4 separate regions of the Homo sapiens genome follow, and regions 1, 3 and 4 are each linked to region 2. The links are contacts of gene promoters, found by promoter capture Hi-C in blood cells and fetal thymus (Javierre and others, 2016). All regions are on one chromosome and are shown on one strand. Each heading gives the region's core, a stretch centred on a gene start or on the middle of the fragment in contact. The rest is flanking DNA. Distances are from core to core; before and after follow the strand shown. Region 1 has its middle 120 kb from the start of GORAB. Region 2 holds the start of MROH9 (maestro heat like repeat family member 9). Region 3 overlaps LINC01681 (long intergenic non-protein coding RNA 1681). Region 4 has its middle 22 kb from the start of KIFAP3.

Region 1 (2,700 bases), core at 83-2,582, 520 kb before region 2:
AATCTTACACAAAACTTTTTCAAATAAGAGAAAAAGAGGAAAACTGCCCAACTCATTTTGTGAAGCTTGTTGTAGCCAAGATATTCTTAAAGAATTATATTGAAAGGACTCACCACACCAGAAATCTTTCCTTAATATAAAATTAATCTAATAAGTAAATATGCTATTGGTACAGATATAAACACATAGCCCAGTGGAATGAAATACAGAGCCCCAAATAAACTCAGCCAAATATGGAAACCTGATATATAACAGAGCTTTTGTTACAGATTAGTGAGGAAAGATTAGACTGTTCAATAAATAGTAGTGGTCCATTTGCCTATTCATAAGAAAAAGAAGATTATATCTCATACTACACAGTCATACAAAATCCATATAGCTCTAGAGAAAAATTTTACAGTTTTAGAAAGAACTAGCAGAATAATTCGTGAACCCAAGGCAGAGAAGGATTTCTTAAACAAAATTTTTAAAATGCTAATTATGAAGAAAAGTAAAGAAATTTGACTATATTAAAATTAGGAACTTTTGAACATCAAAAGGAAACCCCAAAAAAGTAAAAAAGTCACAAATTCATAGACAATATTTACAATACATTATGAACAAAAAGCCTAGAATCTAGAATATAAAAAGAACTCATATAAATAAACAACAGAAAGACAGACCATTCAATTTCTTAGAAGTAGGCAAAATGCATGAATATGCATGTTCATATATTAAAAGAGGAAACAGGAATGGCCTGTCTGAATGTAAAAATGTTCAACTGCATTAATAACTAGGGAAATGCATATTAATATTATGAATGAGATAAAATTTCACACACCCAAATTAGCAAAAAACAAAAACAAAAAACAGTTGGATAAATCCAAGTTTTGGAGAGATTGTGGAGTAATGGGAATATAAATGGTACAGTGACTTCAGGAAACAGTTTTACATTACCTAATAATGTTGAGGTATAATGTTGAAAATACTTATAGCCTATAATGTAAAAATAAATTTATTCTTTTATACTCTGGAGAAAATATTTAATGAATAAGCCAGGAGACATGAATAAACATGTTCATAACAGCAATTTCTGTAAAAACAAATAACTGAGAATACCCAAATATCTATCAGTCAAAAGTAGAAAGTATGAATAAGTTGTGAAATAGTCATATAATGGAATTCCTTACTGCAATGAAAACTAATTAAGTAACATGTATTGATAAGCAATAATTTAACAAAATAGTAAGCAGGAAAAGCAAGTCACAAAAAGCTATATATATATATATATGGTGCCATGTTTTTAAACCTCAACAAAAGCAAAACTAAACATCTCTTAGGGGCATATGCATAAATAGTAAAATTATAAAGAAAAGCAATGGAATAATAAATATTTGGAAGGGAGGCAGGTGCAATCAGGAGGAGCCTATAATGGCTTCAACAACATCAACAGTATTCTATTTCTTAAACTTGATGGTGTACACACAAGTGTTTGTATTATCATTTGTTAAAACTACACACATGCATATATGCAAGAGTTACAGGGATGAAGTTGATTGATGTATTATTTTGTGTGTATTTATTTCAAACGTAATAAATATAGAAAGTAAGAGAGAAGATAAAAGTGTCAAGAATTTAGGATGTATTAATAGAAAGAAGATGTTAAGCTCAGGAGAACTTAGCAGGGCACTTTGCACCAGGACCTGGATAGACAAAAACATGCCAATCAATGACTAAGGGCAGTAAAGAGGTGACAATGAGCATCAAGGTTATTTAGTCCTCTCGGAGAGCAATTTTGAACTGAAGCCAAAAAGGTGTTGAGTAAGGAGCTAAGACAGAAGTATCTAAAGAGAGGCTGAATTTGGCCGGGTGCAGTGGCTCACTCACGCCTGTAATCCCAGCACTTTGGGAGGCCAAGGTGGGCAGATCACAAGGTCAGGAGTTTGAGACCAGCCTGGCCAACATGGTGAAACCCCATCTCTAATAAAAATAAAAATTAAAAAATTAGCTGGGCATAGTGGTGTGCGCTTGTAATCCTAGCTACTCAGGAGGCTGAGGCAGGAGAATCGCTTGAACCCGGGAGGCGGAAGTTGCAGTGAGCCGAGATTGTGCCACTGCACTCCAGCGTGGGCGACAGAGCGAGACTCCATCTCAAAAAAAAAAAAAAAGAGGCTGAACTTAAACTGGAGGTATGGTGAATGGGCAAGAATGACAGTGAGGGTGAAATAAACAAAGTCTTAATTTCAAGAGAAATTGGCATCATCAACAGGAATTTGGGAATTCGGGAACTCTTTCCTGTGGGAAAGCTGCATCAGAACACTGTTGCCTTTTAAGAATCCACTACAAACATTTCTATTCATAAGGGATCAAATTTTATGTTTATGTGGACCTGGAGTGTATAAAACACATTCTCAAGATGGTCTTTTATAGAAATGAAGTAAATAGACTAAATAGTGATATGTGAGTTTTCTCCTCCAGAAGTAGTAAAATAATCTTTCTATAAGGTTTTAGAGGACAGCACAAAAACACTTATTAGACGACCAAAGAGGGAAAATGAGTAAATCACAATCAGAATACTTTCATTCAATGTTTATTTTCAGACAACTATGTGAGTGAGTTTGAAGCTTGGCCCAGATGCTGAATAGACTCATGACCTTGGCAAAGTCACAGCATTTCTCTGTGCTCCAATTTTCTCAACTGCAAAATACAGAGTTAGGCCTT
Region 2 (2,700 bases), core at 30-2,529:
CACACTATATACTAAAACTAATTCAGAATGAACCAAAGACCTAAATGTAAGGCAAAAACTACAAAACTCTTAGAAAAGTTCTAAATCTAATCTCTGTGAAGTTGGGCCAGGGAATGCAGGCAATGTCTTTTTCTTTTTTTTTAGTTATGATACCAAAAACACAAGCAATAAAAGAAAAAGAATGGCAAATTTAAATTTCACTTAAATTTAAAACTTTTGTGCTTCAAGAGACACTGTCAAGAAAATGTAAAGGCAGCCCATAGAAAAGGAGGAATATTTGCAAATTATGTATCTGATAAGAGACTAGCATCTAGAACATATTAAAAAATCACAACTCAGTAATAAAAATCCAAACAGTCTAATCATAAAAAGTCACATATTGTATAAATCTATTTACATAAAATGTCCAGAAGGCAGACAGAAGATTAGTGGTTGCCAGGTACTTGGGGGAGAGGGAGGGTGAATGTCTGCTAACAGGTACAGGGTTTCTTTGGAGCTTGTTCTAAATGAAAATGTTCTAAAATTAGATAGTAATGATGGTTGTATACCTCTGTAAATATATTTAAAATGATTGAATTATATACTTTAAGATAAATTTTATGGTATGTGAATTATATTTTAATAACTCTATTATAAAAAGTGCTACAATAAACATCCTTCATGTCTCTCAGTGCATCAGTTGTATACATGTTTATACACTCTATGGACCTAGAACTGGAAATTCTGGGTTGTAGATTTTCAGTTTTGCTAGAACTTGACAAGTTTCTCTACAAACTAGTTATATCCATTTATAATCCCACCAGTCGTGTGAGAAAGTTCAACTTTCTTTTATCTTTGCCAATATTTGAAATTATCTTTTTTTAATTTTTACTTGTATTTTAGTACTTTTTAACTTATTAGCTGGGAAATAATATTTTAATGGTTTGTATTTTCATAACTTCAAGTGAGATTAAAAATCTTTTAAAATATTTATTGGCCATTCAGTTTTCCTTTTCTGTGAATTTTCTATTCTTATCCTTTGCCCAGCTTCTACTGGACTGTTGGTCTGAAGAACTATCTTTCAGTGCTTGTAACATAGAAACCAGAAACTTACCCACCCCTCAATAATGACAGGTGAGCATTAGTAGCCACTTGGGCATGCCAGGACATTCTACCACATTCATTCCAGAATGGAATCTTTGAAACATATGGTTGCCATGACGAGTGTCAACATTTCAAAGAATTTGCTTGGTTGATAACTACCTAGAGTATTTTACCTTTGGCTAAGAGGTAATATACTAGAGTTTCTCTTCACTACTTTGTCTCACCGTGATTACAGAGAAGTTACAAATATGTAAGTGAATTCCTATTAATATTTCTGTCATTCAAAAGCTTGTCTTTTTTTCTAATCCTGACTACTTTTCTTAATTTTTGTTCTGTTAAGAAAAAGAACCATGAATACATTAGAAAATTACGTTATGGCCCAGGTATGGTGGCTCACACCTGTAATCCCAGCACTTTGGGAGGCTGTGGGCGGATCATGAGGTCAGGAGGTCGAGACCACCCTAGGCAACTTGGTGAAACCCCATCTCTACTAAAAATACAAAAATTAGCTGGGTGTGGTGGCGGGTGCCTGTAATCCCAGCTACTCAGGAGGCTGAGGCAGGAGAATCACTTGAACTCGGGAGGTGGAGGTTGCAGTGAGCCGAGATCATGCTACTGCACTCCAGCCTGGCAACAGAGTGAGACAAAAAAAAAAAAAAAAAAAAAAAAAAGAAAAGAAAAAGAAAATTACATTACTATGGGCCCTCATCCAGAAATCTTGCCAAAGTTGGCAATTGGAAGAATTTGTCTTTATTCATTAATCTCCTAACTTCATGCCTTACTAGTAAGGATTATCTTATTAGTAAGGATGAGAGAAACCACAACTATATAGATAAATATATTTATTATAAGGTATTGGTTTACACAATAATAGAAGCTAGGAAGTCCTGGATTCTGCTTTCTGCAAGACAGAGACCCAGGAGATCCAATGGTGCAGTTTGAAGGCCTGAGAGCAAGAGAGTTGATGATAAAAATTCCAGCCTGGTTCTGAGGATCTGAGAACCAGAGCACCGAGGGCAGCAGATTTGTGTCCCAAGTCAAGTAGTCAGGCAAAGAGAAAACTAAGCATTCTTCTGCCTTCTTGTTTTATTCAGGCCCTCAATGGATTGGAAGATGTTGACCCACATTAGGGAGTGTCATCTCCTATCATCAGAACACCAATTTAAATGCTAATCTCTTCTGGAAATACCCTCACAGACATACCCCAAAATAATGTTTACCAGATATCTGGGCATCCTATGGCTCACTCAGTTTGACACGTAATATTAACTAACCATAATGAGTTCCCACGTTGAAAATTTGGCACCCATATACATATCCTTAAGCCATAGTTAATCTCCAAATAAAGTCAATAAGAAGCTCATAATTCCATTTAACATGTTGAAATGTAGTGGGATTGATAAGGAATCAGAGAGACCGATGGGGTTGAGAAGGATATTTATTATTTAGGTGCACCGGCCCAGTTGGATTAACCTCCAAAGGACTGAGCCCTGAACAAAGAGTTATCTTTTAATCATTTCGTGGGGTGGGGGAGATCTGTGTAGGGGGAAGCATATTACAGAAGTGAGAAACAAAGACAGTTATTCAATTAATTGAAACATGCATTACATCATTTCT
Region 3 (2,700 bases), core at 2-2,501, 700 kb before region 2:
TAGTCAGAACTTTATGTCTAAATTTAGATTCCTTTTGCTACATTTTTAGCTCTGCCTACTAGTTGCAATAAAAATTTTCTATGGTCCTAGAGTTTGAAGACCTATAATTTTCTTCTGTATTATCATAACAGTTATTTTTCATATGGAAGTGATCAAAAATACACACAAATTATAATTTTTAAATATCAAAAATAATATTGTATTGGAGATGCTTTTCTTAGCATGATCGGTGGTCAGGTTTTATGGTGCTTTGATTAAATGAGGTGACACAAATATTTCAAATTATTCCTTTGTTTGACATCCCAGAGATTATTACATCGCAAGACAATGCATCGCTCCAGCAAGGATAACAAAGCGAATGGGAAGGAAAGGGTTATGAAGAGTTCATGGAAGGCACCTTAGGCAGACTACTTTTAGGAAAGAGTGGATGTGGAAGCTAAGTATCTGGAAATTGATTTCCTTAGAACAGTTTGTGTTTGCATGTCTTCTGAAAGGTTTTATGTACTCCCAAGAGTAAGTATACCTGTTTGAAGAAGCTGCTCAATATAGTTCTTAAAATAGTCTACAAACATGTTACCCCAGCATAGTAAGAAATAGGAGTACAGCCAGAAATGAGAGTGGGAATGATTAGAGAGACCTCTTTGAGGCCTTGGTCGTGGGCAGGAGCACAGTGGGCCGGGCTCTTTCTAGATGTGCTTTAATCATCAGGAATTCTGATACAATTATATTTTGACTATGATATATAAGCTTCATTTGATTACTGTTGCCAAATATTTTTTGCTCTTCACGAAGTAAACCTCTTTTTAAAACTTTTTAACTGGCAAATAATAATTGCATCTATTTAGGGAGTACATTGTGATGTTTTGATACATGATTACATTGTGGAATGATTTAATCAATCTACTTAAATTTAGTGAAAATAACTTAAGCTATTAATCTCAGCCTTGGTGGCTTCTCCTAATTTATGCTTACACAAGAGGCTATCTTCATTGTGAAATGTCACAGACTCTCACAAGCAAGAGAAGAAAATGTAGAGAAGCCCCTCAAATAAAATGCATTAGGTTAATTCATACCGACAAATGTGACACACTTAAAATTGTTCCTAACATCAGTTCATGATTTATTTCAAAAGTTCTTAATATTCAAAAATGCTCAATAATTTAAAGTATTTCAATGTATATAGCAAATAAACCCTGCTATTAAAACAAAAGAATCAGGTTCATTTCAGAAGAGTGAAAACTAGCAAGATCTTACTGTAAATCAACTGTTTGTTTTCAATTATTTGGCATGAGATCTTACATATTTTTAACCCATGTTTTAATTCTCGTAGATACCCTGTTGCAAAAGTTCTGAAACATTGTGAGAAAAAGTGTTTTTGTAGCACTTTGGCAATGGGAGCCTCACTTCACTCTGTTATGTAATGTCCCATCCAGTTTTTAGTTAAACCTGGAAACACCTTTGTCCTTAGGTGAAGCAGCAAGTCTTGCTTAAGCAAAGCTGGTGAAATCAGAGCCTGGTCCAAGGCTCAGAAGCGTTTGCGGGGAAAAGCAAACACTTTTTGTGGGAGAAGGAAACAAAGGAGAAGAGAGGAGGAGGAAGAAATTGAAAAAGAAGGGGAAGAGAAGAGGAAAAGAAAAAGAGACGTTGAGAGAAAGAAAAACAGAGAGCTGTGTGTGATTGGATGCCATGACTCCTCAGTCTTAGTGCTAATGCCGTTGTTACCTAACTCTATTTAGGGAACTTTCCAGAACAAAGCGAAGCTTTGTGGGCCTGGCTTTCAGAACTTATGCAACAATTGTTTTGGGAGCAGACTGAAAATTTTACAAGAGAACTGAGTTTTCAAGAGACTGACGGTGTGACCAAAAGATCAAAGGTTTGGTGCAGTGGGACTAAGTTTCAGGCAGCCTTTCAAATTGTGAAGACTTTCCTCCCTGTTATGGCAGTTAAGACATGTGAAAATGGTAGTTCGAGACACTTATAAGCAACTTTCTTCTTAGTTCACAATGTTCCATGAATGTCAGTGCCCTCCAAACTCACGAGAACAAAGCAGGCAACCAGGATGATTACTCCCAAATCATTGATAAAAGGAGAGAGAAGTACAGAGATACACAGTGATTTGTGTGGGTTGCCAAAAAGTTGCACGGTCAGTTTGACAACTGTTATTGCCTTCAGGTTGACAAATTGCAAAAGCAGCATTGCTGTGTATGGGTGGGGAGGGAGGAGGAATTGCATGAGTAAGAATGAGATGAGCAATAGTTAGGTGGGGTGGAAATGAAATCTCAACAGTTATTGGGGATTCTGATGTATTTATCAAACCAAAAGACGATCTAAAAGCCATACAATCAGACTTAGATTAGGGCAGTCTGTGATAAGCAAAAGTTAATATAGTGTGTTGTTTTTGAAAATATGGCATGATAATTAATAGCAACTCTTTTTGTATACTTGCTTGGTTAACAGGAGGAAACACAGATAAATTAAATACTGGTTAGCAATCTTTAATAACCAGGAGATGCTTAACATTTATTTAGAAATCTGCAACATTTTATAAATCATTGTTTTGGCTTCTGGGACAAACTCAGAATCTGGAACCCACGGAAACCCTTCAGTTACACAAAGGCTTTCCAGTTCATTGCTACTGCACTGAAGAACAGTCTTCACAACTATACCTGGAACTTACTAGGCCAAGAAGGCAAGGCGTTG
Region 4 (2,700 bases), core at 138-2,637, 840 kb before region 2:
AATATTTTGCATTTTTGGTGTTTCTTTCTCTCCTTTTATGTCCTTCTGGTGTGATTTCATTGTGATTGTATGAGATTTGACCTTGATATACTTACTTGTTTATTTTTTATGAAATTAATTTTCCTGAATGTTTAGAAAATAGCAGCTTTTCTAACTTCACAGACCCTCCTCTTCTGCTGTTTGTGTTTCATCTTAAAAAATATAGCATCTTGCTTTGTGAAATTTCCTAGCTTTGTTCCCGTTCGCCACTTTTATCTGTATTTTTTTTTCCTTTAAAAGAAAGAAAGAAAATATTGTCTATTATCTCTTTGCTGCTAAATGATGCTTCTAGTCTGAGGATTTTCTCTTCAATATGGAGCCCTGTCCTGGAAGGAAACTCTGGTGGATCAGGTTTGAGAGCTCCTAGAGAATAGACTGCTGCAGAGCTGCTGTAAATCAGCAGATAATTTACACTCAGTGAAAATTTGTTGAATGAACAAGCTCTGCTCAGTTTCAGCCATTCTTCTCAGATTCCAAGGATTGGAACTTGTACTTTCCAAGGATTATCTGTTGGATGTTTTGGTTCTTTTGTTCTCAGGACCATCAAATGCCTTGTTACTTCTCCTTGTGGTTGTTAGTAGTTTGTCTCTATCCATTTGTATTTTGAGGTTTGCATGGTATCCTGTTACACAGATTTGTTGGAATTTTGGTTTTGCTGTCTAGTTGCTTGCTCTTTTTAATGTGGTGATCTGGGAAGAAACAAAAAACTGTGCTGCCACTGCCATCTTCCCAGGATACTACAATAGTTAATCTTTTTATAGATGAGAAACCTGAAGCCCAGGGAATTAAAGTTATTTGCCCAAGATTCCACAGCTAGCAGCAGGAGATAACTGTAAGTAAAGCAGCTTAATTAGTGTCTGTTGCAGAGAAACTGATTAATGCATGCTCTTTTCTTTCTCCTTTCTTCCCTCATTCTTCCCAATCCTTCTTCTCTTCCTTCCTTGCTTTCAATTCTCCTTCCCTTTCTCCAGAGCCCATATTTAAACCCAGTTATTTCTGACTTCAAAGCCTCTGCAAATTCATTAAATGTGCTATACTTCTACCCCATACTGTGAAATCACTGGAGTTTTTAATTCAACAGAACTATTGAAACAAAATTAGTTTCACTAAAACTTACACCCGTCTTGCTCTAAGAATGTTTTCTTCTTTGCTGTTAAGCTTATATACTTTTCTAATAAAATCCACAAATGTCAAATTCTTTGACACATGCCTCATCAAAACGTGGCACGTTAGAAATAAATTGATGCCCCTAGTTCAGTGAATCCACTTATAGGCATTATATATAATCCTTTAATTGCCTTCTTTCTTTTTAAAATATCTTCTACCATCACCCAGGAAACCACATTTGACAAAATGTAAATGAAATCTGAACCCGAAAAGGCTTGACTTCACTTCTGAATTTAAAAACCACAGAATTTAAAGATATTTTAAAGTTTGGACGAAGTCAAATGCCCTGCTTTTGAAAAATCTTATAAAACTGCCAGTTAACTATTCAGCTTTGAGACACAAGTCCACAAAATACTAAGCTGCATTAGTTAGGAAGCTTGGCTCCTGATAATACTTGACTGAAACTGATTCATTCAAAAGTTGAATGCACTTTGAAGGCTCCCAAATAATTTATACTGTATACCCTGTAATGTAAAAACTATAATTTACTAATTCTCCACAATCTTCTACAAAAGATTAATTAGAAATTAGATCTTGGGGAGCAGAGTTTTGCTTAAGGTATGAAATCACCACACAAAACCTAAGGGATTCTATTTCCAGCCAATCCCTTTATAAAATCCTGTTCCAGCTTTTGGCTCTGTAATGGATTTCCCAGGTTGGTGATATACCACACAGAAAATGCCATTTCCTTATTTTTTTCCCCCTTGAACTTCCTGCACTAACTGTGCAGGCTTAGTCCACACTGTTTGAATTTACTTATTGTGGTTTGCATAAAATTATCCTTCACTCATCTACACGTAGTAGATAATGGTTATTTGCCTATAAATCTAACAGGTACTAAGTTTTATTTACCCTCCTGCACTGTGGGCATTCTCTGAACAAACGGGCAGTTGTTCTTGAAACATTTTCCATTTTTATGAGTTTTGGAACTGTTGGAACTGTTTGAAACTGCTTGTTGCTTTGTGTGCTTTTTAGCAGCTCGAGGCTCCTTCTTTCACGGTGTTTACTCTGGAGCTGGGGTGAACAGAGGATCTTGGAAATGACAGAGTGTTAATATCCTGGAGTGTGTCTTGCTACATGTAAAAGATTGCTTCTCTAGGCTGCTAAGAGCTGCAGCAGAAGCAGACTTTTCAGGAGACACACAGACAAACACATTTAGTCATGAATGGTTGCACACCTACTCTCACTCTCTCTGATTTTGCATGTGCACGAGCAGGCCAGGAAACCTGACCCCATGTTGATTGGAACGTTGCTTTGCATTTATTTCCAGAATATTTGGAATGGCACATATGTTTCCCATTAACGCTCATGTTTGATTGTTCTAAGTAATTTTTTAAAAATTAAATAAACCTGTATCAAAAATTGTCACTTTGTGTTGAAGAAGCACAATTAGGTCCCTTTGGGGGAGTAAACTGAAAAGAAAGAATGAGATGAAATATTTTGGCTTCTTTATATGTATTTCTGTAAATGAGAGTGGCATTAAGATCTAGTCAT

What was found. Contacts are between HindIII fragments. The CHiCAGO score rates a contact against its expected background, and 5 or more counts as called.
Region 1: a fragment that was not itself captured here is called in contact with the fragment with the promoter of MROH9 in region 2 in 1 of 17 cell types (M1 macrophages); the score reaches 5.5 in M1 macrophages.
Region 3: a contact is called between a fragment that was not itself captured here and the fragment with the promoter of MROH9 in region 2, in 1 of 17 cell types (M0 macrophages). The highest score is 6.8, in M0 macrophages.
Region 4: a contact is called between a fragment that was not itself captured here and the fragment with the promoter of MROH9 in region 2, in 2 of 17 cell types (M1 macrophages and M2 macrophages). The highest score is 5.5, in M1 macrophages.

Annotation. Positions count from the first base shown.
Region 1 is chr1:170,412,563-170,415,262 of GRCh38, forward strand. No RefSeq gene overlaps it. Among named protein-coding and RNA genes, the nearest start is that of GORAB, 120 kb to the right of the region's middle. The HindIII fragment of the contact is 2,538 bases long and covers 64-2,601 here.
Region 2 is chr1:170,934,255-170,936,954 of GRCh38, forward strand. It overlaps MROH9 (maestro heat like repeat family member 9), which reads left to right and starts at 1,280. Exons shown (of 22, transcript NM_001163629.2): 1 at 1,280-1,333. The HindIII fragment of the contact is 7,245 bases long and covers 1-1,369 here.
Region 3 is chr1:170,237,442-170,240,141 of GRCh38, forward strand. The region is part of intron 2 of LINC01681 (long intergenic non-protein coding RNA 1681); the gene reads left to right. Among named protein-coding and RNA genes, the nearest start is that of LINC01142, 45 kb to the right of the region's middle. The HindIII fragment of the contact is 1,013 bases long and covers 746-1,758 here.
Region 4 is chr1:170,095,645-170,098,344 of GRCh38, forward strand. No RefSeq gene overlaps it. Among named protein-coding and RNA genes, the nearest start is that of KIFAP3, 22 kb to the left of the region's middle. The HindIII fragment of the contact is 385 bases long and covers 1,196-1,580 here.